Regions from separate parts of the Homo sapiens genome. Here regions 2, 3, 4 and 5 are each linked to region 1. The links are contacts of gene promoters, found by promoter capture Hi-C in blood cells and fetal thymus (Javierre and others, 2016). All regions are on one chromosome and are shown on one strand. Each heading gives the region's core, a stretch centred on a gene start or on the middle of the fragment in contact. The rest is flanking DNA. Distances are from core to core; before and after follow the strand shown.

The links. The method cuts DNA at HindIII sites, captures the fragments that hold promoters and counts their contacts. A CHiCAGO score of 5 or more calls a contact.
Region 2: a contact is called between a fragment that was not itself captured here and the fragment with the promoter of BBS10 in region 1, in 12 of 17 cell types (M0 macrophages, M2 macrophages, naive B cells and 9 more). The highest score is 14.1, in M0 macrophages.
Region 3: a fragment that was not itself captured here is called in contact with the fragment with the promoter of BBS10 in region 1 in 1 of 17 cell types (neutrophils); the score reaches 8.1 in neutrophils.
Region 4: a contact is called between a fragment that was not itself captured here and the fragment with the promoter of BBS10 in region 1, in 1 of 17 cell types (M0 macrophages). The highest score is 6.3, in M0 macrophages.
Region 5: a contact is called between a fragment that was not itself captured here and the fragment with the promoter of BBS10 in region 1, in 3 of 17 cell types (M0 macrophages, M1 macrophages and M2 macrophages). The highest score is 6.5, in M0 macrophages.

What each region holds. Positions count from the first base shown.
Region 1 is chr12:76,346,581-76,352,445 of GRCh38, reverse strand. It overlaps BBS10 (Bardet-Biedl syndrome 10), which reads left to right and starts at 4,031. Exons shown (of 2, transcript NM_024685.4): 1 at 4,031-4,284; 2 at 4,659-5,865. The coding sequence starts at 4,088. OSBPL8 (oxysterol binding protein like 8) reads left to right here. Exons shown (of 24, transcript NM_020841.5): 24 at 1-649. RefSeq lists enhancers at 3,630-3,679, 2,826-3,775, 3,776-4,725. The HindIII fragment of the contact is 11,737 bases long and covers 1-5,865 here.
Region 2 is chr12:75,533,135-75,539,010 of GRCh38, reverse strand. The region is part of intron 12 of LOC105369844 (a long non-coding RNA gene); the gene reads left to right. Among named protein-coding and RNA genes, the nearest start is that of KRR1, 24 kb to the right of the region's middle. The HindIII fragment of the contact is 1,508 bases long and covers 2,818-4,325 here.
Region 3 is chr12:75,380,428-75,386,203 of GRCh38, reverse strand. It overlaps a transcript of CAPS2 not described here. Among named protein-coding and RNA genes, the nearest start is that of GLIPR1L2, 7.8 kb to the left of the region's middle. The HindIII fragment of the contact is 1,274 bases long and covers 678-1,951 here.
Region 4 is chr12:75,574,749-75,580,195 of GRCh38, reverse strand. It overlaps LOC105369844 (a long non-coding RNA gene), which reads left to right. Exons shown (of 16, transcript XR_007063375.1): 10 at 4,578-4,847. Among named protein-coding and RNA genes, the nearest start is that of KRR1, 66 kb to the right of the region's middle. The HindIII fragment of the contact is 686 bases long and covers 1,876-2,561 here.
Region 5 is chr12:75,553,065-75,558,747 of GRCh38, reverse strand. The region is part of intron 12 of LOC105369844 (a long non-coding RNA gene); the gene reads left to right. Among named protein-coding and RNA genes, the nearest start is that of KRR1, 44 kb to the right of the region's middle. The HindIII fragment of the contact is 3,280 bases long and covers 1,691-4,970 here.

The sequences.
Region 1 (5,865 bases), core at 2,782-5,281:
GAGTTTAGTATATTTAATTTACTTTTTGTTACTCTTTACATACTGTTTATTTTTGTTAGTTTTTAATTGAAGATGGACTGTTGAAATTGTATAGGACCAGTGTCTTATTAATATGATTAATATATTTAGAAGAGCCACGTGAAACCCATGACAAAATGAATGTGAATATTCTTTCTAAAAATTTAGAAAATGTTATCTTTTTGCATTTATTATGTAAAACTGTTTTACAGTATCAAAATTTTTCACTTAAAGAAAAAAAATGCCATGAAACATTTGAACTGATGAGCCACAGAACTTCAGTTGAAATTTTTTTCACTTTTTAGCATGCTAAATATACATCTGAGTTTAAATGTTCTGTTTAATGGCCATTCATAAATTCAAGCACTACCACTGGTCAGTTTTGTGTGATAGAATAAAAATATGTTACCTGCAGTGTAAGTACAGCACACTGTCAAATTCTTTTCCTTAAGGTGCACAGTAAATGTACAGATAGTTATAGGCCACTGTTTTGTAATGTAGTACATTTCTAATCTATTATTCCTAACCTATTATAACTGTTTGCAGAAAGAAAAGAATTTTTCTAATAATCTGTAAAATTATGCTAACTTCTACAAGTAGGCTTCTAAATAAAATTTTTAAAAAGAGCAAACGGTGATCAAGTGACTTTTAATACAATATGATGACTAAATTATTGCTAATTTGTTTTAATCCCCCCTTTTGTGGGGATAGGGATAGCTGCAAAGGATGGCAAAGGGCTTGAAAGGGATTCAACAGTGAGAATCCCTGAAGTATGCTTTGCTTGGTGCCTTATATTCATTCTTCTCGAATCCTCTATGAGAACCTTAGGTGGACGTTAGCCAGATTTTATACATGAAGATGCTGAGGCTCAGAGAGGTTGAAAGTCTCCAAAAGCTGCGGAGTAAGAGTGGTAGCCGACTCTTACTTTAAGAGTAAAAGCACAAGTTTGAATCTGTATCTCCGTGGTACACTTAAATAGAACTCTAATAGCACTTCACTTCTAAATGTCAGGAATATAATCCACTGCTTGAATCTATATTGAGTAATGTAACCCCTTTGTTATGAGTAGCACCACAAAAAAACCCTACTATTAAACATATACGAAATCCATATGAAAGGGTTTTTTTTTCCCCCCTCAGATCACCTATTAGTCCATACTGAGTCAACATCAGATGAGTTCCGAGACATCATTCCTCTCTGGTTTTCCCCCACCCTCCTTTCTTCCCATTCTTGCTCTCTGCTCAGGGTCCAGTTGCTTCTGGCTGTCATTTGGTTTGGTTTTATTAATTGGGGAGAAAAAGATGGGAGGGCCTGCCGGTTCCTCCTATCTTGTTCATAGCAATAAGGATTAAGGAAAACGGCCCCTCATTGTCCAACCTCGTGAAACATCTACAAGATCATTTTCTTGCTAATACTGGCATGCTTCGACTCTAGATGATGTATGTTGTGCCATTATGCTAGTTGAATCTTCTGCATCTCACAAAATATCACTTGTGGGAATAATAAACCAGGAGAGTGGTGACCTACCACAGTAATTTGGTGGGTGCGTCAGAGGCATCTGAACCAGAGCAACTCCAGTAATTTGGTGGGTGCGTCAGAGGCATCTGAACCAGAGCAACTCCATCTTGAATAGGAGCTGGGTAAAATGAGGCTAAGATCTAGGCTGCATTCCCAGATGATTAAGGCATTCTAAGTCACAGGATGAGATAGGAGGTTGGCACAAGATACAGGTCATAAAGACCTTGCTGATAAAACAGGTTGCAGTAAAGAAGCCAGCCAAAACCCACCAAAACCAAGATGGCCACGAGAGTGACCTCTGGTTGTCCTCACTGCTATACTCCCACCAGCACCAAAGACAGTTTACAAATGCCATGGCAATGTCAGGAAGTTACCCTATATGGCCTAAAGAGGGGAGGCATAAATAATCCACTCCTTGTTTAGCATATCATCAAGAAATAACCATAAAAATCGGCAACCAGCAGCCCTTGGGGCTGCTTTGCCTATGGAGTAACCATTCTTTTATTCCTCTTTCTTAATAAACTTGCTTTCACTTTATGGACTCGTCCTGAATTCTTTCTTGCATGAGATCCAAGAACCCTCTCTTGGGGTCTGGATTGGGACCCTTTTCCTCTAACAGGTGTAATATAAATATCTGTTGAGTGCTAACTATGCCAGGCACTATGCAAAGTGTTTAGTGAACATTCTCCACCTACTCAAAACCTCTTGAGATTTTTATTTTGTATATGTTATCTCCACTGGTTTTTTTGGCGGGGATTGTTTTGTTTTGAGACAAGGTCTCGCTCTGTCGCCCAGGCTGGAGTGCAGTGGTGCAATCTTGGCTCACTGCAACCTCCCTTCCCGAGTTCAAATTATTCTCATACCTCAGCCTCCAGAGTAGCTGGGATTACAAGCATGCACCACCATGCCCAGCTAATTTTTGTATTTTTAGTAGAGACGGGATTTTGCTATGTTGGCCATGCTGGTCTTGAACTCTCGGCCTCCTGTGATCTCCCACCTCGGCCTCCCAAAGTCCTGGAATTACAGCCATGAGCCACTGCGGCAGGCCCATTGTTTTTAAAGATGAGAAAAGCAGAGATCAAAGAGGTTACTTGGTGAATGCCACAGGTAAGGAAATGACAGAGCAAATCCAGGTCTGAATCCAAAGCCCATGCTCTCAAGTGCCTGTGTTTTAGGCCAGGCAAGGTGGCTCATGCCTGTAATCCTAAAACTTTGGAAGGCCAAGTTGGGAGGATCACTTGAGGCCAGGAATTCAAGATCAGCCTGGGCAACACAGGGAGACCCTGTCTCTACTAAAAGAGAAAATAACCAGGCGTAGTGAGGCACAAAGCGACTTGAAGGCTAAGACAGGAGGATCACGAGCTCAGGAATGCGGAGCTGCAGTAAGCTATGATCTCGCCACTGCACTCCAGCCTGGGCGGCAGAGTGAAACTTCATCTCTTAAAAAACAAAAAAAATGTTATAAGAGACAGTATTTTCTGTCTTTGGGTTATATACAATAATCCTTGGCCATGTGTTTTAAAGCATACTGTTGATCACCGACGTGATTAATGGATTTAAATCTGCACAGCGGCTCATGCCTGTAATCCCAACACTCTGAAAGGCCGTGGCAGGTGGATCATTCAGGTCATGAGTTCGAGACCAGCCTGGTCAACATGGTGACATCCCCATCTCTACTAAAAATACAAATATTGGCGGGGCACAGTGGCGTATGCCTGTAATCCCAGCTACTTGAGAGGCTGAGGCACGGGAATCGCTTGAGCCCGGGAGGCGGAGGTTGCAGTCAGCCGAGATTGCGCCACTGCACTCCAGCCTGGGCGACAGAGCGGGAGTCCATCTCAAAAAATAGAGACTTCGCATCATTTCTGCTTAATATATTTGTGGTGTCTAGAGTTTTATTGTGATACCTGAGTCTAGGAAATGTGGTAAAGCCTCTGCAGCAGACATAAAGCCTGCAATTCATGGCTGTGGCCAGGCTCTCCTCACCTGTCCTGCATCTACAAATTATTTCCGTTATGGTAAGGAGAGCAACTCGTGGGGAATGTGGACAGGAACATGCGTGAATCCAAGGCAGAGGTTTTGCCCCGGAAAAAGCAGCTTCTGGCAGGGGATGAAAGCCAGCAGAGTTCCAACCGGGGTGCCCTCTCCTTCACGCAGGCCCCACTACCGTGTTGACTTAGGAAGAAAGTTTCTCGGGAGACTAAGGGATTTGGGGGCAGCGGACGCCACTGGAGGGAGATGAATTCACCTAGGGAGCCGGGGAGGGGCTTAGGGTTGCCGCTCCAGGCACAGCTGCTGGAAATCCTAGTCTGTTTTTTCTGCCTTCGCGTACAACGGGCCAGCTCACCCCACCTGGCAAAGCTGCAGGGCTTTTCCACCAGGCGGACAGAAGGGCAGCCCTCTCGCCCAACCAAGAAGCCGTGCTACCCCGGCTTCGACTCCTGGCTTCCGGGTTTTCTCCCCGCCTATTCCGTTTCCGGCCGTTCCCACCCCTGTTTTCGGTCGGCCCGGGTGTTCTGCAAGCTGGTCAAAAAGGGGAAGCGGCCCAGATATGTTAAGTTCTATGGCCGCTGCAGGGTCTGTGAAGGCGGCGTTGCAGGTGGCCGAGGTGCTGGAAGCCATCGTGAGCTGCTGCGTGGGGCCCGAGGGACGGCAAGTTTTGTGTACGAAGCCCACTGGCGAGGTGCTTCTCAGCCGGAATGGAGGCCGCCTCCTGGAGGCGCTACACTTAGAGCATCCCATAGCCAGGTACCCGCGTCCCACACGCTAACCCGTAGCCGGGCACCCCAGGCAGCCTCTGTGGAGCTCTTGTCCCATCCTGAGGCGATGCGTACTTAGAAAGACTGACCTCGGGTGAAACCGCTGTATGCTCGGAATTAGAGCCCTGCCCAAGGGAACACTCCTGCACCCCAAATCTTACCAATTCTCAAGACCACTTCTCCCCACTCCACCCAACGGTGGAATCTTGGAATAGAGCAGAGTTTTTTCCAAGAAAGGAAAAAACTAAGGATGTATCCAAGGAACAATATTCTCATTTTATGCTTATGGCTGTGTAAACATGGTTTTAAGATGTGGGAAGCCAGCCTTCTGAAAATGAGTTGCTTTATTTCTTTTTTGTACAGGATGATAGTGGACTGTGTTTCCAGTCATCTCAAAAAAACAGGAGATGGTGCAAAAACATTTATTATCTTTCTTTGCCATTTGCTTAGAGGACTTCATGCAATCACAGACAGAGAAAAGGATCCTTTGATGTGTGAAAACATTCAAACCCATGGAAGGCATTGGAAAAATTGTTCTCGGTGGAAATTTATTTCCCAGGCTCTCCTAACGTTTCAGACACAAATATTAGACGGTATTATGGACCAGTACCTAAGTAGACACTTTTTGTCTATCTTTTCGTCTGCTAAAGAGAGAACATTGTGTAGGAGCTCTTTAGAGTTGCTCTTAGAAGCATACTTTTGTGGAAGAGTGGGAAGAAATAATCATAAATTTATTTCACAGTTGATGTGTGACTACTTTTTCAAGTGTATGACTTGTAAAAGTGGGATTGGTGTATTTGAGTTAGTGGATGACCATTTTGTAGAGTTGAATGTTGGTGTCACTGGCCTTCCTGTTTCAGATTCCAGGATCATAGCTGGTCTTGTGCTTCAGAAAGATTTTTCTGTGTACCGCCCAGCAGATGGTGACATGCGAATGGTGATAGTAACAGAAACCATTCAGCCTCTTTTTTCCACTTCTGGATCAGAGTTTATTCTAAATTCAGAAGCACAGTTTCAGACATCTCAATTTTGGATTATGGAAAAGACAAAAGCAATAATGAAACATCTACATAGTCAGAATGTAAAATTGCTCATATCTAGTGTGAAACAACCAGATTTAGTTAGTTATTATGCAGGGGTGAATGGCATATCAGTGGTTGAGTGTTTATCATCAGAAGAAGTTTCTCTTATCCGGAGGATCATTGGTCTTTCTCCATTTGTACCACCACAGGCCTTTTCGCAGTGTGAAATACCTAACACTGCTTTGGTGAAATTTTGTAAACCTCTTATCCTTAGATCCAAAAGATATGTTCATCTAGGCTTGATAAGCACATGTGCATTTATACCACACTCTATAGTTCTTTGTGGACCAGTGCATGGTCTCATTGAACAACATGAGGATGCTTTACATGGAGCACTTAAAATGCTTCGGCAATTATTTAAAGACCTTGATCTAAATTACATGACACAAACCAATGACCAAAATGGCACTTCAAGTCTTTTTATTTATAAGAACAGTGGAGAAAGTTATCAAGCACCAGATCCTGGTAATGGCTCAATACAAAGGCCT
Region 2 (5,876 bases), core at 2,322-4,821, 810 kb after region 1:
AGTATTTAAAGGGGAAAAAGTGGGCTGGAGGGAAAGAAGGGTGGGTACGGTAACCCATGTGTTGCAAGAAAATAGGAGCAGGTAGGGGAATAGTCAATTATGTATTCATCTGGCAGCACATTACATAAGATAAGGTGAACATAACGGTTTATCTGTAGCTATTTGCTTAGGAACAAAAGGAAAGGCAGCTTCTTGTATGACTCTACTTTCAGTTTAATTTTTTCCTTTTGGCATAGTGAATTGGGGTCCTGAGTTTTTATTTCCCTTTCACAAATGTTTGTGGGAAAATATATCTCCTGCATGGATACTATTTGGATACTCTAACAAAGAAATTATGGGATTGTTGGCAGCAGTGAATCCATACAGGTCTGCAACAACCTCACTTCTTGCCCTCTCAGAAGAAATAATTCAACCAAGGGGCATAAGGCAGAGGGAGAGACTGAGGCAAGTTTTAAAGCAGGAGTGAAAGTTTATTAAAAAGTTTTAGGGCAGGAACGAAAGGAAGTAAAGTACACTTGGAGGGGGGTCAAGCGGGCAACGTGAGAGATTCAACTGCCCAGTTTTACCTTTGACTTGGGGTTTTATATGTTGGCATTCCACATGTGCCAGCCAGCATTTTGGAGGGGCTGCATGCACAGTGTGTTTACTGAAGTTGTACGCATGCTCTCTTGAGGCATTTTTTTCCTTATCAGTCGCGTGTTCCTAGAGAAAGTTTATACATGAGTTAAACTCTGCCATTTTGCCTCTTAGTGTGCATGCTTGAACCCACTTGCCCAACTCCTCAGATCTTATTAGGAAGCTGCTCACCACCAACTTCGGGTGTTTTTTATCTTTGGGAGACTGCCTTTCCCTGGCACCAGGTGTGACCAATTATTACTTTAGAGAGACAGTTTAACAACTACCTGACCATCACCTGATGGTCACCTGGCATTCCTGGGTGGTGGGGGGACCCTCTTCTGCCCTGCTCATGTCTGTCTAACTACTTACTCTAACAGGCTTACATATTTAAAAGTCTTTGTCAATTCCAATTTAGTGAGCCTGGGATGCGCGCGTGTCATGCACACACACACATGCATGTATGAACACATTTTTAAACTGTTTTTTAAATATATTTATGTTTCTGTTATGTTTGTCCCTAAATCAATGTAGCATTCTATATTGCTTTTTAAAAATATTCTAGGCCAGGCACGGTGGCTCAGGCCCGTAAGCCCAGCACTTGGGGAGGCCGAGGTGGGCGGATCACCTGAGGTTGGGAGTTTGAGACCAGCCTGACCAACATGGGGAAACCTCGTCTTTACTAAAAATACAGAATTAGCCAGGCATGGTGGCACATGCCTGTAATCCCAGCTACTCAGGATGCTGAGACAGGAGAATCACTTGAACCTGGGAAGCGGAGGTTGTGGTGAGCTGAGATTGTGCCATTGCACTCTAGCCTGGGGAACAAGAGCAAAACTCCATCTCAAAAAAAAAAAATAATAAATTGTGACAATGCTTTGTTATTTAAGGGGAAATATACATTTTGGAATTAGGTAAGAGTTCATTTTAATCAAAACATAGCAACACCATCACATGGAATCGCTCAAGTCTGCCAAATTTCTAGTTAAAATGCATGAGTTGGAGAAAACATTTAAGAATATTTGATATGTTTATACCAATCTAGGACTGTTTATCTCTGGACTACTTTACATGAAAGAAAATAATCTTCTAGGTATTTTAAGCTGCAGCTTTTTTAGCTTGTTTTGTTATTTGTAACCAAACAAAACTAATGGAATTCATAACAGATATAGTACCCAAGAATGTGTCAAATATCAACAAGGTAGCAGACATCAACTTTTCATCTAACCTGAAGTTTAGAAAATTGCAGTTCAGTGTCTTCAGGAATTTCTTGATTCTACCTGTTCTGTAGTGACAGCACCTGAAATCATTGTTTTATTGTCTCTCTTTGCAAGAGTGTGGGTATCCCCAAGCATGCCTAAGGGAAATCAGGGGCATATGTTGAGTTCCCTTCTCTGATCAGTTTACATTTTTATTTATAGTTATATTTTTGTGTTTAAGGACAATACATGCCAGTCAACTACAGCATAAAACTGCCGAGGAAGGCCTATTGTTGAGCAAATCACTCTTTAGAAGACAAAAGCATTAATGTATTATTAATACAGTGCCTATATTCTATATGTGGGGTCTGCAGAAATACAAAATTGGCTTCTTGAGACTTGAAATTTGTTTCTTGTCTGGTTCTGCTTTCCCCTGTTTGAACATGTTAGATTTTAACACATCGTTCATACGGTTTCAATTTAATTCCCACACAATTGCTATACTACTTGAACAGAACAAACAAAACTAATAAATAACAAAGAAAGCCCAGGCATTTGAGATCTTTTCAAAATGCTAGTAACACTGTAGATAAAAACAAGTTCTAGGAGTTCAGAAGTTAGTATACAGAGACATTGGGTACTTTATGCTCTAAATATAGCTTTTATTTATTTTATTATTTATATTGGCCCCTTATAAATGTAAAGTAATGAGTTGCCCAAGGGATTTTCTTTATCTCCTTTCATAGCAGTCACTTACTTGTTTATTTAACAAATGTTTGTTAAGCACCTACTATGTGCCAAACACTGTGCTGGACACTGGGCAAAAATGTTTCTTGCCTTCAAGGTGCTTCGAGGACTCCAAGGACTCTAGTGGGCTTACATATCATCTATTAAAAAACACTGCTGATGACTTTTTATCCATAAGACCCACATAACCTAAACACAGGTAAAGAAAGGTAATAGCAACCAAAAATGAAACATAAACAAACTTTAAGGTAAAGCTTCTGCCACAATAATTGTAATTGATAGCATTTACTGGAAATGTAACTATTATCCAGTAGATGCAGTTTTAGGAGGTAATTGTTGTTATAACTCCTTTTTACAAATGAGGAAACTGAACATTACTGAAGTTCCATAACTTGTTAAAATTGTACTGCCAGTAAGGGTTTACAAAGGTTTTTAGCCAGGTAGGCTGACTCTAGAGCCTAGAGTGGTGATATTTTCAAAACTTTTTGTGTAATAAGTCACAACCCCTCACATTCCCAAAACGTTTAAATATCTGAGGGATGTTTTCTGCAGAGTGGGAACTTTTGTTTAATATGCCCCATGATATGTAGCTTGAGACAACCTTGCATTTTTAAAAACAAATATTTTAGCCTTAGACTCTATCCCTCTGAATGGGGAACATCACCTCACCATTGAATTCAGAGTGGTCACAACACTGAGCTTCTCAAAATTAAAAGTATTTTAGTCTTCTTGTCAGTAAATGTAGGGACTGGCAGCTTTTCCATTTAGTTTGAATATTCTAATAGTTATTGATCAAAATCTTATACCTAGAAGATAAAATACTGTGAAATAACAAGGATGATTTTATACAACCTAAACCAGTATGAAGATATTCTGATTAATTTTAGGCTACTTCCAACTGCACCAAGGCCACCCTGAAGTTTCTATATATGAGCTTTCTGTATACAATCAGTATTATTATTATTAGAAGTTGATCAGTTAGAATTACATTCATTGTGACAAACAAAAACCCAGTAAACATTTAAATATCAGGTTTAATGAAGATTGTTCAAGGCTGAGGCGGCTTTTCTAATATGTCATGAAAGAACCAAGTTCATTTTATTTCTGTTCCATCAACTTCACCATGACTTTCATCCTCACAGTTTCATTATTGTTGCTGTATTTCCAGCCATCACATGCCTGTTCCAAACAGGAAGAATGAGAAAAGCGAAGCAATAGGAAGCCTTTTTGGTTTCTAGGGACTTCCTCTACATCTTATAGGCCAGAATTGAGCTACCACGACCTGAAAGAGACTGAGAGTTAAGCATTTCCATTTTCTGGCATCAATAATAGAGGAAAACAAGAGAAGGGTTGGAAAAGGTATTGAAAGAGCCATACTACAGCATCTACTACAGAAGTCATTTGCATCTTTACTTCAGAAACCATGGAAAACATAAGCAGGTTTCTATTTCTCTGTTTATGTGACTCTTCCCCTTATTTTGGTGATGAAAGGCTAACAAGAATAATTTGGGGGTTTTGTTTATCTACTTGATTACTTAAGGGAGAAAAATGAGAGGATACAACCTTCTGAGACAGCACTTTTAGGGCACGTGACAGCTCACTATGAATCAGAAGTGAATAGTACCCCTACCCAGCTTGGTACGCACACAGAAAAGGGGCATTTGTGAAACAGATGGTAAGACCCTACAGGATTCCACAAGGACTTTCTTCGTAGTGTATTTCCAGTAGAGGTCAGTGAGCATCCCAGGTTTCTAAAATTAAGCTTCACTGCTGGCACTCTAGGGATGGTCAAAGACATAACCATTGTCTGCACTTAGTCATTAACAAGTCCTCAAATTATTCTTGCAGAGAATATGCCATTGGAATATGCTTTTGGGATTGGGAAGATTTGAAAAGGATTCCAGCACCTTATCACTGAAAGGGACTTTAGAAATCATTTATTCCAATTCCTCTTACTTTTATCCAAGGAAACCAAAGCCCAGGAAATTAAGTCATTTGCACTGGGATACCCAGATGAGGATCACTTTGGTGTCCTTTTCTACCAGTTGGAAGAAGTAAGGACATTCCTATAACAGGTTTCCATAGCACTATGTGCGTCCCATATGTAATACTTGACCGCAAACATGTGTTTAGCGCTGCTTTTTAGTTTACTGTAGTTTAGTGTCTCCCTTCACGTCTACACTGCAAGTTCATATGCAGGTTAGGAACAACATCTGTCTCATTAAATGCAGTATTTGTAGGGCCCAGTACACTTTGGGGAACAGAGAAGGCACTTGATATATTTTTATGGAATAAATAAAAGACTAGATGGTTCAAGAGATGCTAGCCAACATCGGATAGAGGTTGTAATTTTTATTTCAAATTACCAGCATCTCTAAGGCAATTGTTATTTAGGTCATCTGCAGAAATTGGGTGAACAGCCAATACTACATTCCACTAAGAGAACATTTTTCTACCTGCGCCGTTCCTGACCCCCTCATCACCCACTTTCCCAGGACTAAGGATCATTTAAGCCCCCGCTGTGTGTGAATCTGTGAGTGAAGGCAAATAAAGATATTTTCAGTAACATATTCCACTATCTGGGAAGACATTGGTTACCTGACAGTGATATAAACCCAGTAATTCTGGGTGGGGATTGAACCAAACATATGCTTTTAAGTTGAGAGCTAAAGAAAGTGTAACAGTATCTGTCATAATAAATCCCAAGGAATCTTCATTGAGCTGTTTAGAGTGGTATGGAATGTGTAACCAGTTTTCATATTCTCCACCTTGTACCCTATATCCAGCTGGAGTTCAACGATAAAAACACTTTTTTAAATTTTTGGCATATCTTTAGGATCTGCTGTTTATCTTATGTTTTTATCAGCTTACTTCTGTGGGGTAGTCTCAGTGTTTGCAAGGTTACAGTGATAATTTTCTATCTAATTTTATTCCAAATAGAGTTGCTATTTGGATGGCTGGGGGCTAGAGCATGCCCTCAGATTGCCTGGTCAGAAAGGAATGCAAGTAGTTGGAAATCTTTCAGTTATTTGTTATCCAAGGTAACAATGCATTTTAGAAGGAGGAATCACTTGTTGTTGCTATTTCTAAATCTATTTATAAACTTTTATGTTCGCTGAAGGACGAGACACCCTAGAATTAGGACTGATATAGATTTAGAAAGATCAGATGGTTATTTAAGACCTTTTGAGAGCAGATAAGGCTCTCCCTAGAAGTTAAAAAAGAAGAGGTTTGACTCTTAAAGGCTATAATTTCTACCACTTAAAGGGATTATTATATAAACTGAATATTAGCATTATATTTTCTGTTAAATTA
Region 3 (5,776 bases), core at 65-2,564, 960 kb after region 1:
TATTGGCTGTTCAGGGTTTTTTTGCCTCTTCATATAAACTTTAGAATAATTTTGTCAGTCTCCACAAATTAACTTGCTGAAATTTTGATTGGGGTTACATTAAATCAATAGATCAAATTGGGAATTACTGATATCCTAACAAATTCCTTGTTCATTCTATTATGAACAAGGAATATTTATGAACAAGGAAATAGAATGAACAAATTCCTTCTTCATTCTATTTATGAACAAGGAATATTTCTTCATTTATTCAGTTCTTTGATTTATTTTATCATACTTTTGTAGTGTTCCTCATACAGATCTTGTAAATATTTTGTTAGATTTATGACTAAGTATTTGTTTGTGTGTGCTAAACGCTATTATGTTTCCAATTTTAAATTCTACTTGTTCATGGCTAGTATATAGGAAAGCAATTTAAAGTAACTGACTTTTCTATATTAACCTCGTATCCTGCAACCTTGCTAAAATCATTGATTAGTTTCAGGAGTTTGTTGATTCTTTGGATTTTGTACATAAATAATTATGTCATCGGCAAACAAAGACATTTTTATTTCTTCTCAATCTATAAACCTTTTATTTTCTTGTCTTATTGTATTAGCAAGGATTTCCAGTATGAAGTTGAAGAGCAGTGATGAGAGGGGCATCTGTGCCTTGTTCCTGATCTTAGTGAGAAAGCTTCCTGTTTCTCATCATTAAGTATGCAGTTAGCTATAGCTTTTTTTTGTAAATATTGATATCTTTATCAATATCTCAGGGAAGTTTCCTACTATTCCTAGTTTATTGAGAATTTTTATTATGAGTTCATACTGGATTTTGTCCAGTGCTCTTCCTGCATCTATGGATATAATCATATGATTTTTCTTCTTTAGCCTATTGATGTGATTTATTACATTAGTTGATTTGCAAATTGAACCAGGCTTGTATACCTATGTCTTAGTTCATTTTCTGATGCTTATAACAGAATACTTGAAACTGGGTAATTTATAAAGAAAAATAATTTATTTCTTACAGTTATGGAGGCTGAGAACATAAGGTTGAGGGGCTGCGTTTGGTGAAATACCTTCTTGCTGTTGAGAACTCTCTGCAAAGTCCTGAAGCAGTGCAGGGCATCATATGGCAAGAAGGTTGGGCATGCTAGCTCTGGTCCCTCTTCCCCTTTTTACTAAGCCCTTTAGTCTCACTCCTGTGATAACCCATTAATCCATTAACTTATTATCCTATTAATCCATTAATCTATGAATGTATTGGTTCATTCATGAGGGCAGAGCCCTCATAACCCAATAATCTTTTTAAAGCCCCACCTTTCAATACTGCCTCAATGGAAATTAAATTTTAACATGAATTTGGAGGGGAAAATATTTAGACCAGAGCAATCTGGAATAAATTCCACTCCATCATGTAATATAATTATTTTTATACGTTGTTGAATTCAATTTGCTTAGTATCTTGTTGGGGAATTTTGCATCTATGTTCATGAGAGACGTTGGTCTGTAGTATTTTTTTTCTTGTAATGTTTTTGCAGGATTTTGGTATTAGGGTAATGCTGGCCTCATAGAATGAGTTAAGAAGTATTCTGTTTGCTTTTATCTTCTGAAAGACATTATACAGAATCGATCACTTTTTTCTTTAAATTTTTGGTAGAATTCACCAGTGAATTTATCTGGGCCTGGTGCTTTCTGTTTTGGAAGGTTATTAGTTATCAATTAAATTTCTTAAATAGGAATAGGCCTCTTCAGATTGTCTATTTCTTCTTGCATGAGTTGTGAGAGATGTGTCTTTCAAGGAAGTGGCCCGTTCATCTAGATTATTAAGTTTGTGGGTGTGGAGTTGTTCACAGTGTTGCTCAGTTATCCTTTTAATGTTTATCAGATCTGTAGTGATGTTCCTTCCTTCATCTCTGATATTGATAATTTATGTCTTTTCCCTTTTCCTGTTAGCTTGGCTAGAAGCTTATCAATCTTATTTATGCCTTAAAAAACCAGCTTTTGATTTTATTAATTTTCTCTATTAATTTTGTTTTCAATTTTATTGATTTCTGTTCAAATTTTTATTATTTCTTCTGCTTACTTTGGGTTTAATTTGCTCTTTTTTTTCTAGTTTCTAACAGTGAAAGCATATGCGATTTTAGATCTTTCTTCTTTTCTAATATATTTATTCAATGCTACAAATTTACCTCTAAGCAATGCTTTGCTGCATCCCACAAATTTTGCCAAGTTGTTTTCATCTTCATTTATTTAAAAATATTTTCAAATTTCTTTTGAGATTTTTTCTTTGGACCATGTGTTATTTAGAAGTGTGCCATTTAATCTCTTATTTTGGAATTTTATGGTTATCATTCTGTTACTGATTTCTAGTTCAATTACTAGTGGTCTGAGAGCAGGCATTACATGATTTCTATTCTAAATTTGTTAAGGTGTGTTTTATGGTCCAGAATATAGTTTATTTTGGTAAATGTTTCATATGAGCTCGAGAATATATATTCTGCTATTGTCGAATAATGTATAGACGTCTTATTACATCCAGGTGATTGATGTTGTTGTTGAGTTTAACTATGTCCTTACTGATTTTCTGCCTGCTGAATCTATACATTTCAGATAGAGGTGTTTTGAAGTCTCCAACTATAATAGTAGATTCGTCTATTTCTTCTTGTCATTCTATCAGTTTTGTCTCATATATTTCTACACTCTCTTGTTAGGTGCATATACATTAAGGATTGTAATGTCTTCTTGGAGAATTAACCCCTTTATTATTATGTAATGCCTCTGTTTAATCCTGATAACTTTCCTTGTTTTGAAGTTGGCTGCAGCCAAAATTAATATAGCTATCTTGGTTTCTTTTGATTAGTGTTGTAAAGCTAGATTTTAAGCCCAGGTGACTAAGATAGGAGTATGGAAGGACACACAAAAGCATCTCATTTGGTTTCTGTAGAAAGAAGTGGGGTTTGCTGACAATGTTCTGCAAATATTCAATCTTTCGTATCTGTCAGTGAATCAGCTCCCATTATATACTTCATATAAAAAAATTTTAATGCATTATATTCTATGATATATATTTTCAAAAAATTTAAAGAGGCATGTAATACATGAGAATTATTTAATCATAGTTTCATGAAATACGTATTAAATCACAGGTTGTGTACATTTTCTAATAAGGTTTGAATGGTTGTAGATTTTTGAACTTTGAAATTTGGGGCAAAACAGTTTTAAGTTATTTTATATTGAAAGTGATGGAAATAATTTATCACATTCGGTTTCCTGAGGGCATTGGAATTGTTAGAGGGTATTGACAGAGTCATTTATTTCTTTACAAGGAATGTGGAAAATAAGGTTTCATTAAATTATTTAAATTCTGCTACTTATATACTTTTTGCATACCCATTTAATATTTCTGTTGTCATGTATAACAGATATAGCTTTAATTTTAAAAACAAGAGCAATTTTGGGATAAACTTTAAGCCTCTTGCTTATCTCAGATGATTTGTGAGTTTCCTTAAGTTCTCAGTTTCTGTACACTTGTACACTGCACTTGAAATTATTTTTTAAAATTCTTCTTCTTTTTTTTTTTGAGATGGAGTCTCACTCTGTCGCCCAGGCTGGAGTGCAGTGGCATGATCTTGGCTTACAGCAACCTCCGCTTCTTGGGTTCAAGTGATTCTCATGACTCAGCCTCCTGAGTAGCTGGGACTACAGGCATGCACCACCACACCCAGCTAATTTTTGTATTTTTAGTAGAGATGGGGTTTCACCATGTTGGCCAGGCTGGTCTTGAACTCCTGACCTCGGGTGATCTACCCACCTTGGCCTCCCAAAGTGCTGGAATTATAGGCGTGAGCCACCATGCCTGGTCTACACTTGAAATTTTAAGGAAATAATACTCTAATTCCATATGCTTTTTGATTTGGATAAAAGCTAGCAAATTTAAAAATGTATTTTTAATCTACATTTACTGAAAATGATCATGGGATAAGACTGAAGATACTAAAATGTATTATTTTGTTCTCTGTATAGATGTTATTAGAAACATTGTTTTTATTTTATTGACTCTTTCTCATTGTTTCTTTACATACTCGATTGATCTTTTCTATAATTCAAATTTAAGATTCAGATAATTGTGCATGAGAAGCATTAAAGGAGAAAAGCAAAATGATCCACACATAAAAGCCAACTTTGAAAGGTAGAAAGATAGACTTTACTTCGTTAAAATGTAAAATAGGGCAACTGAGAAATTTGCTAGATAAATGTCCAAGGATTAAAATCCCAGATGCACAGGGAGCCATTCAAATTTCATAAGAGGCTGGGTGTGGTGGCTCATGCCTGTAATCCCAGCACTTTGGGCAGCCGAGGTGGGCAGATCACGAGGTCAGGAGATCGAGACCATCCTGACCAACATGGTGAAACCCTGTCTCTACTAAAAATACAAAAATTAGCTGGGCATGGTGACACATGCCTGTAGTCCCAGCTACTCGGGAGGCTGAGGCAGGAGAATCGCTTGAACCTGGGAGGCGGAGGTTGCAGCGGGCCGAGATTGTGCCACTGCACTCCAGCCTGGTGACAGAGCGAGACTCTGTCTCAAAAAAAAAAAAAAAAAAACACTTAAGAAAATGAATAACAGCAGCACCATTAGAAAAATAGAGGAAGAAAATGAACAGGTAATATACCAAAAAAAAAAAAAAAAGTCTAAATAACAGTGTAGTTGAAATATTCATCCTGCATCTACTCTTTTCACATATAGGTATGATGGAGTGTATATAACTAGATTCCAGGAGGAATTTGGACCTCTGGAACTAAAGTATCGTTTGTCGCTGTATTAGTTTGTTTTCATGCTGCTGATAAAGACATACCTGAGATTTGGCAATTTACAAAAGAAAGAGGTTTAATTGGACTTAGTACGGTTCCGCATGGCTAGGGAAGTTCTCACAATCATGGCAGAGGGCTAAAGCCACTTCTTACATGGCGGCGACAAGAGAGAATGAGGAAGAAGCAAAAGCAGAAACCCTTGATAAACCCATCAGATCTCATGAGACTTATTCACTGTCATGAGAATAGCACAGGAAAGACTGGCCCCTGTGATTCAGTTACCTCCCCCTGGGTCCCTCCTACAACATGTGGGAATTCTGGGAGATACAATTCAAGTTGAGATTTGGGTGGTGACACAGCCAGACCATATCAGTCTCTAAAAGACTGAGCCATAAAATTGAGTATAAATCCGAGACTATTTATATTAAAATTTGACTCCTGAATGTACATTACTTCTGTATTCATTAGGTCAATATGAAGTATGGTCATATGTTTGAAACAACTTCCTGTAATCTTTTCATCAAAGGTGAAAATAAGATTCCTAGCCTTTCTTAATAACTCTCAAACAATATATTGGTAAATTTGAATGTAGTTTATGAAAATATGTTTAGCTTTACTGGTAGTTCAAGGAATAAAAATTAATAGCATCTACCTCATTATTGAGGGAATTATATAAGTTATTAGATGTAAGGCACTTAGTGCTTGGCATAGTAATACCTACTGTTAGGTATTACTATTATTAAATTTAAATACTCTTATTTTCACTCATTGAATTCACAAGAACTAAAAATAATTATTAACACTTAGCATGGTGCCAGATATTATGCATGCTTAATAAATGTTTTTTTATATTAGTTTTCATGAGAGCATGCTTAATAAATATTTATTGAGTTATTCTTATAATAATCAATGTAGTTTCCCTAGCTGCAAGAAGCAAACCCAGTGAATATAACTACAGGTGAGTTGCTGGTAGTTTTAGT
Region 4 (5,447 bases), core at 969-3,468, 770 kb after region 1:
TGCCATTGAGGATGGTTCTCAGCATTCTCTCCTCTATGATGAGAGAATAAAATGCAGTGGATGAGGATGTCCTCAGGGATGAACCTTTGCTATCAGGGATGTTACATTTGGAAGGGATCTCAGAGACACTGCGCTTAATTCTCTCATCATAAAGGAAAGAATGCTGAGAACCAGAAACGTTGAGTGATTTCCCAAGGTCACACTCACCCATCTGTAACCTCTACTTCAATTTCAAATCTGAATGCTTGTTTAATGCTTTTTAAAAAACAGTTTTGACAGATTTGTCCTGATTTTAGTGCTAGTTACCTGACTCACGTCTTAAGGATACTCTCGAGGACCAAATAAAATAAAATAAGATGTAGTAATTAGGAAAAATCATTACGGAAAAGTAATGCTGACTAGTCAACTCTAATGTAGAGTCTGACAGATTTAGTGCCAAGTCAGGCTTGGAAGAGAAGAGGAAGTAGCAGATGGAGTTTTATGCTGGTAATGACAGCAGGTGGGAAACAGGTAATAGCAAACAGATGGGCCCCATAGTATATAAAGACCACCAGCATCTCATTTTCTAATGCTTTGTTCCCAAATAGTAGTAAGATTCAATTGAGTTCTTGTAAAAATCTTATTGAACACAAACTCACTATTAGGTATAATGTTAGGTATCACAGAGGGACAGTTTAAAAATAAAACTGTTACTATACTGAAGCTCAAGAAAAGTAGGAAATATGACACAAGTACAAAAAAAGAACAATATAATACAGAAGAGCACAAATAAATGCTGCAAAAGAAACACAAAGTGTAGGATGAATCTGGTCTATAAGGGTAAAGGAGTCAGAAAGCAAACAAAAATGTTCAGACAAAGAAAGGCTCAGAAGCAGGTAAATGCCAGAGAGGATTTGCTTAATTGTGAATGGCACAACACTGCTAGAGACAAGCAAACATGTGTCATGGAAGAGCAGAATAATTAGGTGGTACAGACCCCTAAACATCACTGTCTGGCTTGGAACAAGACACTCAAACCCTCTCACCTTCCATTTCTTTATTTCTAAAATGAGATAGTTTCCATAACCACTTCCAGGTTTAGGAGTTAGTAATCTCTAATATAGAATCTCCTTAAATTTCTTAGTCTAATATTTCCCAAAGTATGAGGTGTGTGATCCCAGTGAAATGGAGATTTTAAAGAGTACATATGTAATATTTATGTTAGTAATTACATAATTTTTAGTAAGGTTGTCTTGTATTTAAAGCAAGTGATAGTGATTTTCATTTTTGTAGTGTTAGAAGTTTTCTTTAAAATTTTTATTTAAGTGAAAAATGTGTATCAAGTTATAGAAAAAATTTAACTATTTCCATTGATGTGTCACATTTTCAATTCATACATGTTTTCTGTGCATACTATAACGTAGCTGTGTTTGTTTTGCTATCATCGATTCATTCATTCACTGAACAAATATTTATAGAGTACCAACCATGTGTCCTGCTCTAGGCAGCATTGACAATCTGGTAAACAAAACAAACAAAATCTTTGCCCTGTGGAACCATCATTCTTGTAAAGTGAGATTGACAGTAACAATAAACATGACAAAAAAGTAAATTATATAGGGTCTTAGTAGGTGATAAGTGCTAGAAAAAAAATAGAACAAGACAGGAGGACTGGGAGGGCTAAGAGGTATGTGATAGATGAGATGGTCAAGTAGTCTCTTTAGGGAGGAGCCATTTTATCAAAAATTTCAAAGAGATGAGGGAATGAGCCATGTGAATATTTTAGGGGAGGAATAATATTACACTTTACTTACCACTGAGTAAAACTGATGTTCCTACACCCTGGGCTCACATATGCCCATCGTTATTAGGGGAGAAACATATTAGAACAAAGCTTAAATTCATGATGACATCTCTGTGCCAGGTATATTCTAATTTGAGACACAATTTGAAATGCTAGAGGGACATCTTATGGAGAAACCCAACAAGCCAATGGATATATGGAGGCGATATCTGGAATTTGAAGTAGACTTTGGGGTCATTTTTATAGCTTTTATTTTTAAAACTGTGATATTGCCAAGAAAAAGGGATAAAACAGAACCTTAGCAACCTGTTACTTCTGTAAGGGATGGGAGGGTGGACAGAGATGGAGGAAACTAACTTGTGTTATGTGCCAGGCCCCAAGCTAGCAAGGCAGTTTGCATACACTATGCATTGATTGCACAAGAAGTAGGCAATGAATATGTAATAAACATGTTTATTTTTCAAGGAGTTTTCTGGGAGAGGTGAAAGAAGCTAGTGGTGGGCAAATCTGTGGTCTCTAATATATGTAATGGCTCCGTCTATAACGTCTATAATGGATGTAATGGCTCACGTCTATAATCCCAACATTTTAGGAGGCCGAGCCAGGAGGGTTGCTTGAGCCCAGGAATTTGCCAGCCTGGGCAATATAAGGATTCCCCCATCTCTACAAATAACAATAAGAACAAAAAAAAGAGATTCCCCCATCTCTACAAATAATAATAAGAATAAAAAAAAGTTAGCCTGGCGTGGTGGCATTCACCTGCAGGCCTTGGGAAGCTTAGGTGGGAGAATCACTTAAACTCAGGAGTTTGAGGCTGCAGGGAGCTGTGATCATGCCACTGCATTCTAGCCCAGGTGACAAAGCAAGACCCTGTCTCTAAAAAAATAGTAATAATAAAATAAAGTGAGAAAACCCTGGGTCCAAATATTCACAGTGGAGCTGACTTACTTCTCTGAGCTGACTTCTTCCTCTAGAGCACAAGGCCAGTGACAGTAACTGCATCACTGGGTTGTTACGAGATAATGTATGTCAAATCTCCTGCTACATAGTAAGACCTCAGTAAATGCTGGCTATTCATTTAAAGTAAAATAAAAAGATAATATGGTAGCTTACAATAACAAATGAACTGCTTTTTATGGCTGTGTTATTTTAAAACCATGAGATATTTGAGCATTTTTATTTTTATACTAGCAATGAAGAAAAAATTCAGTTAAACAAGAACTTCCAGAATTAAACAAGTTTTTCTTACTTTTTGCAATTATTGAAAAATTCGAATGGGATCTGTTCTATTTTATTTTTTAAATTTGGTTGGTTTTACTCTCTCTTTTTAAAAACTGAAAATCCCTTTAGATTTTGGCTGTTCTCTGTAGAAAAATACATATAAATATGCTAAAAAAATTTCCAAAATTTGGAAATAAAGCAAAATGATAACTATGACATTCCCAAGTTTTGCTTGAGCAGTGTCCAATAAGCCTGATGAAGGCTCATCTGATTCTTGAAATATAGCTTTGCCTGATTACTGTTTACTATTGATTAGAGTCCAAATTATAAAATTACTTCTTAACTTGTAGAAATTTCATTGGATGACAATGATTTTTGTCCAGATGAGATGCCAATGATTTCTCTCTAAAAGGGAGATAATTCTAAAATTTATGTTTTGATTGTCGTGTAGTACATTAACCAGTTTTGAATCTAATTTAGCAATCATATTCCCGCATTCTTTCTTATACTTTCATTGGTGACTTACATCCTTCTTTGAACTATTTTTGACATCCCGCTGGATCCTCATTAATAACTTAAGTAAATCTTTGTCATACTATGCTCACTATGAATTTGTATGAGAGTTACATTTGTAACTTATTATTATTATTATTATTTTTGAGATGGAGTCTCGCTTTGTCACCAGGCTGGAGTGCAGCGGCGCAATCTTGGCTCACTGCAACCTCTGGCTCCCTGGTTCAAGCAATTCTCCTGCCTCAGCCTCCTGAGTAGCTGGGATTATAGGTGCGTGCCACCATGCCCAACTAATTTTGGTATTTTTAGTAGAGACGGGGTTTCACCACGTTGGCCAGGATGGTCTTGATCTCCTGGCCTCATGATCTGCCCGCTTTTATTGTTGTTTGAGAGGGAGTCTCGCTATGTTGCCCATGCTGGAGTGCAGTGGCGTGATCTCAGCTCACTGCAATCTCTGCCTCCTGGGTTCAAGCGATTCTCCTGCCTCAGTCTCCTGAGTAACTGCGATTACGGGAGCATGCCACCATGCCCAGCTAATTTTTTGTATTTTTAGTAGAGACAGGGTTTTACCACATTGGGCAGGCTGGTCTTGAACTCCTGACCTCAAGTAATCCACCCGCCTCAGCCTCCCAAAGTGCAAGGATTACAGGCATGAGCCACGGCACCTGGCCATACATTTATAACTTTAAAAAAATTATACTTTAACATACAATGTATCAGGGTTTAAGCAAAACCATACACGCTTATTAGTTTATACAGTTATTAAAATATATATTTATAATATATTTTAGTATATTTAATATATAAATATATATTTATATTTTATTAACTGTATATAATATCACATATAATATGCATATATTTATATATAATGTATGTATATATTTATATATAAATATATAAGCAAATATTTATATTATATATTACATATAAATATATATTTACTTATATATAAGTAAATCTTTACACATATAAATATATATTTACATAAGTAAATATATATTTTTCAATTTTCAATTTCTTAATTTTCAATTAAGAAATATATATTTCTTAATTGTAGGGATTTGTCCTTACAGTGCTGTGGAAACTGGTGAAGAGGTCTGAGTTTGGATATAAAGCTGTAGTTTCTGGCCTGGTGCTGGCACCTGAAGTCCACAGACAGCTGGGCAAAGAAGATGGATGGGAAGCAGAGGAAGAAAAGGCAAGCTGAATGAAGGAGAAACTGGTGCCTTCCATCATGGAGCTAAATATGCATCTGGTCCAGGATTCAGGGAAATTGATGCAGCAGGAGGATCTGGCAGGAGCCCAGCTGCTGCCCCTCACCAACAAGGTGAGCTTGTGGATAAGTGACAACATGCATGAGTTCCAACAGTGCTTGGAGCCCTGCATCCATCTTCCAAGCATAAAAAAACAAGATGGCTACTGCTTCACTTCCACTTTCTACATCTTATGCAAAATGTCTCTTGAGGTCCACACTGTCCAAGAAATCTGCAGAAAAGACATATGGAAGACTTAGTTCTAAGCCAAGTTGATACAATAGACATCTATCACACACTATTTATCATAAGATTTGGTGAGGGACGGGGGGTTCACAGATGCCCTAAACCCCACTGATAGATAGCCTAGGGGTTTATGAGCCTTGGATTATTAAAAATCTCTCTTCTAGTGTTCATGATAATAGGAATGGCATCAGTGACTTAATTAAGAAAACATCACCTTCTGAATTTAGGCTGATCCGTGTCAATGAGTTTTAATAGCTGGAAAAATTTGTATTTTAGTTACCTTTCTAATTTTCTCTTCACTTGAGAGCCTGTCAATCTTCTCAGTACTCAGGAGTCAGTCTGTCAGTACTAAGGAGTCACATTCTTTACAATGCCTTTTTAAAATGTTAAGTTTTATTTCCTAATTTTTCAAGCAAATGCACATATTA
Region 5 (5,683 bases), core at 2,081-4,580, 790 kb after region 1:
AGAGCATCTCTACCATAAACTGCTCTGTCCCTCCATAAAACAGGCCAGTTGCGTAGCTGGAAATGTTTCTGCAAGACAACAATGGCTGATAGGAGATTGAGCATAACCAAGCGCTTGATACAAACCATCTGCTTTTCTCTGAATGGTGTCCTTGAGTCTTCATTCTTGCTCAGTGTCCTGTGAAAGGAGCTGAAGCTGCTGCCACCTGATCCCAGTGTTTCATTACTGCCTGTCCCTGACCTGTGCGTTGACTTTTCATTGCCCTTTCCCTTAAAAACAAAGCTCAGGTCTCCCTTGGGCTAGAGAAGGGTGATGGTTGAGGTTAGAATGGGGGTCAAAAATCAATAGAGGAATCCAACTACTTCTTTGCTGAAGCAAACCAAGCACAAATTCTCCGAAGTTAGGTAAACAGACCTGTGTGCAAGGTGGGGAAAACTGAGTGGAAAGCAAAAGGAAGGAGAAAAATGAGGCAAATAACCTCCAAACATGTTTCTCATAGCTAACATCCTGGCACAATTTAGAGAAATGTCAAAGTTTACTATTGCACTTATTAGAGCTAGTGAGCTCCCAAGGTAAATGGAGAACTAAAAGGCCTTCATAATGCGTATTAATTCTTATAAAAAAATCTAAGGACTTCATGTCTTCTGACCAGCATGCAGCACATTCATGGAAACTGAATTCTTACTACCACATGTGTTTTTATTTTTAAAAAACAAAGTGAGAACAGGTTAATACTTCAAGCTTTCCTCAAGCAAATTGTTGGACTAGTTCAGATGGTTCTCGAAAGAGTAATTGCTCTTCCTTGGACATTATAGGCAGGACTATTCTAGAAGAAAAATCCACTTTGAATCACATAACTAGTATTGTTTTCTATAAAGCAAAAGTCGTTATGAAGATAGGCAAAGGACTAGTTTTAAAGGATCATCATGGACCTTTTATTAGAAATCTCTAATAAGGAGGAATAATAGTGATTCTGACAATATTTTTTTCAGAAGGTGACAAATGAATTGTTGACACGATAATGAACTTCATTCTTAGTTATTTAAATTAACATTAACATATTTTTCTTTACATTGACAGCTTATAATTTAGTTGTGCACACAACAAGTATTTTCTCAAAGACCTATTACGTGCTGAAAATAAAGCAAGATATTTTTGTTAGAGTGGATCAACAAGAGGAAGGATCCTTCTTTAAAAAATATCTCTTGAAGATAGATGAAGAAATAATGCATCATGATGAATTATTTAAGTATAGAATTCACTCAAATGTCATCTGTTGCTTCTGATCTAGTGAGAGTTGTTGGATGCGAAAGATAGTAAAATACCTGCGTATACATACATAAAGCCCAAAGTTCAACAAGTAACACTTCTCTGCCTCATGAACCTCTGTCATCTCTCTGATGAAGAATACAGAGAGAAGGCAATAAACTGCAAATGTTATGACTACATTTCCAAAGCCTCCTTACCAGATCACATCCTGTCGGAGAGATAGCATGAGGGATTTGTGCACACGGAGTCATGCAGCAGGTGAACCCAGGTCAAATGTAACATCACTATAGCTGTGATTTCAGATCCTTTGCAGGTATCCCCTTAAATTGACTTTTATGATATTATAATAAAACGGGAATAGGATTTCACCAGATTTAGAAGCTCTTATAGTTATTGACTTCTTCTGAGGATGCCTGAAGCTTCTTCTTATGGTCAGAGGCTGCATGAAACTTTTGTTGCTGTTAGGTTTCAGAAAGCCATTTAAGGTATACAGCTAAAATACACCTTGCAGAAGCGAAGCTAGGATACACAATTCAAGAGGCAGCTCCTCATTTATACTATTAACTCAGCCAGCAAATATTTATTGAATGCCTACTATGTGCCAGTTACTACTCTAAGTTGTGGAGATATTACAGTGAATAAAAACAAAACAAAACAAGTATCTTTGCCCTTATAGACTCATGTTACACTGTTGTTGTTTAAATAAAATAATCCCCTCCCCCAAAACACACACATCCTTTTAGGTAATTTCCACACTGTATTGCCAAACTGTATGTGCCTTAGGTAGGGATATATTTGGCTACAAGTAAGAAAAAAATTTGACCAATCGTGGTTTAAACAAATAGAGCTCTCCCTTTTCACTTGGCATAAAGTCTGTATGTAGAGAGTCAGGAGGCTTATACAGCAGCTCAACTGTGTCATGGGGGATTTAGTTTTTTTCTGTCTTAATACTTTGCAGTGCATAGCATGATGGTTGTTTGTCATGGTTATAGGATGGTTGCTACAACTCCTGGCACTATGTCTGTACTCACAGCAGGGAGAAAGGGAAATGAGTGTCTAGTCTTTATTTAAAGAGGAAAATAAAATTTTCACAAAACAATTTCTAACGTATTTCAAATTATGTGTCATTGACAAGACTGTACCACATGACTACCCACATCTGCAAGCGAGGCTAAGAAAGTGAGTACATAGTATTTATAGCCTCGATAGTGAAGGTAATCAAGCAAAGAACAGGGTTGGGAATGGGTGTTAAGTTAGCTAATCTAGACTGTAGTTTATATTGATTACAAAAACAAAACAAAGCAAAATAGAAAATCCAGTGTTATTTAAACATAAGACTGGTTCATTTTTACATCTGTTAATTTTCTTAATGTGTGACTGAATGCATGAATGCCTTGTCAAAGTACACAATGTCCTGTAAAAGCCTGAATAATTGAATAAATGAATGAATGGTCTAATGCAACTGGCACCGGCAAAAGATTGTCTGAAACTCTACATGGACAATTGTTTTGGCTATTTCAACTACTTCGATTGCTTATTTCAGTAAAAATTATCAACAAGCCTGACTATAATCTTAATTATTATCAAAGTTAGCATGCTTTAAAAAGTTCCATTCAATAATCATTTATTAAACAATGACTATAAGGTAAATACTAATCCTGAGAGTTGCATAGAAAAATAAGACAATATTTAGGCTGGGTGCGGTGGCTCACGCCTGTAATCCCAGGACTTTGGGAGGCCGAGGCGGGTGGATCACGAGGTCAGGAGTTCGAGACCAGCCTGACCAACATAGTGAAACCCCGTCTCTACTAAAAATACAAAAATTAGCCGGTGAGGTGTCACGCGCCTGTAATCCCAGCTACTCAGTAGGCTGAGGCAGGAGAATTACTTGAACCCGGGAGGCAGAGGTTGCAGTGAACCAAGATCACACCACTGCACTCCAGCCTGGGTGACAGAGTGAGCCTCCATCTCAAAAAAAAAAAAAAAAAAGAAAGAAAAATAAGACAATATTCCTATGTCAAAAGGTAAATGCTCAAGAAGAAACAGATAAGCAGATCTGCACACAGTGGGACACCTAACTCTGCCTGGGAGAATCAGAAACGTTTTCATAAAGAGTTGTGTATGTGCTTTTCTGTTGTGTGTGAAGAAGGGGATGAAACAGAAAAGGAAGACAAGGAAAGAGATAGATATAGGCTTTTTCAGGCAAAGGGAATAGCATGTGAATGTCATAAAGGCATGTGAGTACACATTAAGTAAGAGAAACACTTTGGTATAGCTGTGTGGCATGATACAATGTTAACGAATGTCGGAATCATGCATACCTGAGTTTGAATCCCAGTTTAGGTTCTTTTTTGTTGTGAGACCTAGTAAGCTCCTGAATGTCTCGGTTTCCTCATCTCTAAAATGGGGATAAAATATCCATTTACTTGCATTATAGGGAATTTGGAGGATAAAATGCCATGATACATGCACATGAGCTATGATGCCTGACACAAAGATAATATCAATGTCTGTATCTGTTGTTGTTATCATTATCATCATAATTACCAAAACAATATTGTGTTTTGAGAGTAACGGGAGACAAAGAAGGAAAGGTCAGTAAGTGTAGGTCATGAAGAATGCAAGGCAAGGTGTTACTAAGGTATTACAAAATACAGCCACAAATTTCTCACAACCCTGTAGACATCCTCTTTGCAATGTAATGTTGCTGTTCCTTCCTTCAGGAGGTAAAATTTATTTCTCCAACATCTTGAATCTGGGCTGGTCTCATGATCTGTTTTGATGAATAAAATGTGGCAGAGGTGACATTGTGCAATTTATGAGCTGAAGCCTCAAGAGGCATTTCCAGCTTTCAGTTTTACTATCTTAAAATCCAGCTCCCTTATGAGAAGATCCCAGCCAGCTCGCTGGAGAGCCCATGTGGAGGGAAACTGAGGCACACTAGTTGAAAGCCCTAGTCAACTGCCATCTGGGACCAGCTAGTCGCTAGCTGAACTGTCACCTGACCACAAAATACATAAGTGAGCCCAGCAATACCCTAGGGAGCAGGGACAAAGTATCCCAGCTGATCTCTTCTTCAACTGCCAAACCCAGAATTGTGAGCAAATACATAGTGACTGTTTTAAGCTACTGAGTTTTGGGTGTTTTTTTATATGCCAGTAAATAACCGAAAGAGAAGCATAAGAAGTTTTACTTTACCCAGGAGATAAGAAATAATCTTTGAAAGATTTTTAACAAGGTAATGACCTCAACAGATTTTTATTTTAGGAATTTCATCCCAATGCCAGCATAGAGGTTCACTGAATAATGTTACTGAAAACAAGTAAAGAAGATAGAAGATATTAGGAGTAATAGTTCAGTAAAACTTGATGAAGATCTGGGCGATGATAGAAGAGCAAGAAAAAAGCTACTTGCCTGAATGAGGAACCTCAGAAATGCCCTGCATGCTTCATTGAATGATCTGCAGAAAGATTCCTAAAATTCTTCATACTTTTTGAACAAGGAGCATGCAGTTTTACTTTGCACAGGGCCCTGAAAATTATGTAGCTGTTTCCAAGGAAGGAATTCACAGAAACTGAGCTTCAGGCCTCACATATTAGGAGGTAAAAAGGATCTGACTCAGTATGTTCTTGGTTGTGGCAGTTTAGCCACCAAGACTCTCAGGTTTGTGAATGTTTGGATCTCTCAGTGGCAGTCAAGCTTTGATTACTCTGATGCTAAAATCAGTGGCAGTTCCACACAGCAGAAACACCAAGAATAAGAAAAGCATTTCCAATCTTCTCTTTCCTAAGAGCTACCTGAGTGGCATTGAATGAGTCAACCTTCTCCAGCTTCCTCATTCATGAAATGCAGTGCTAATCTTGTCCCTACACAGCCACAGGATTGTGACAATTAAGCGGACATGTGAATGAAGCACTTTAAATTCCCCACAAAGGAATGCATTCAGCTAAACAGAGGGACTAAAAATAATTCTATTAACAACCATAATCCTCAGGTGGTGTCCTCAGCTCAGGTCCTTCTGAGGTGGCTATGGCTGCATGCTGTTTAGAATTTCTGAATCAAAATGCCTGACACTTTTCTGAGAGATAAAGAGAAGACGATAGATAGATAATCATTTGATTGGGCTGGCTGTGTGTTTATATGTTGTAAACTCCTTTTCCTTTTTATTTATTTACACTGTCTCATAATTTAAATTTTCTGCATATATTCAATCATCAAACATTTGTTGAACATATTATTATGTACTGGGCACCATGCTATGGGCTAGAAAAGAGGAACCAGAAGGGGCCCCTGCCCTCAAGGAACTCATAGTGTATAAATTGGAGATTGATACAAATAAACAACTAGAAAGTAATGTGGCAATGTTAAAAAAAAGTCATAAGCCAAGTGTTGGTGGAACACAGAAAGAAACCAT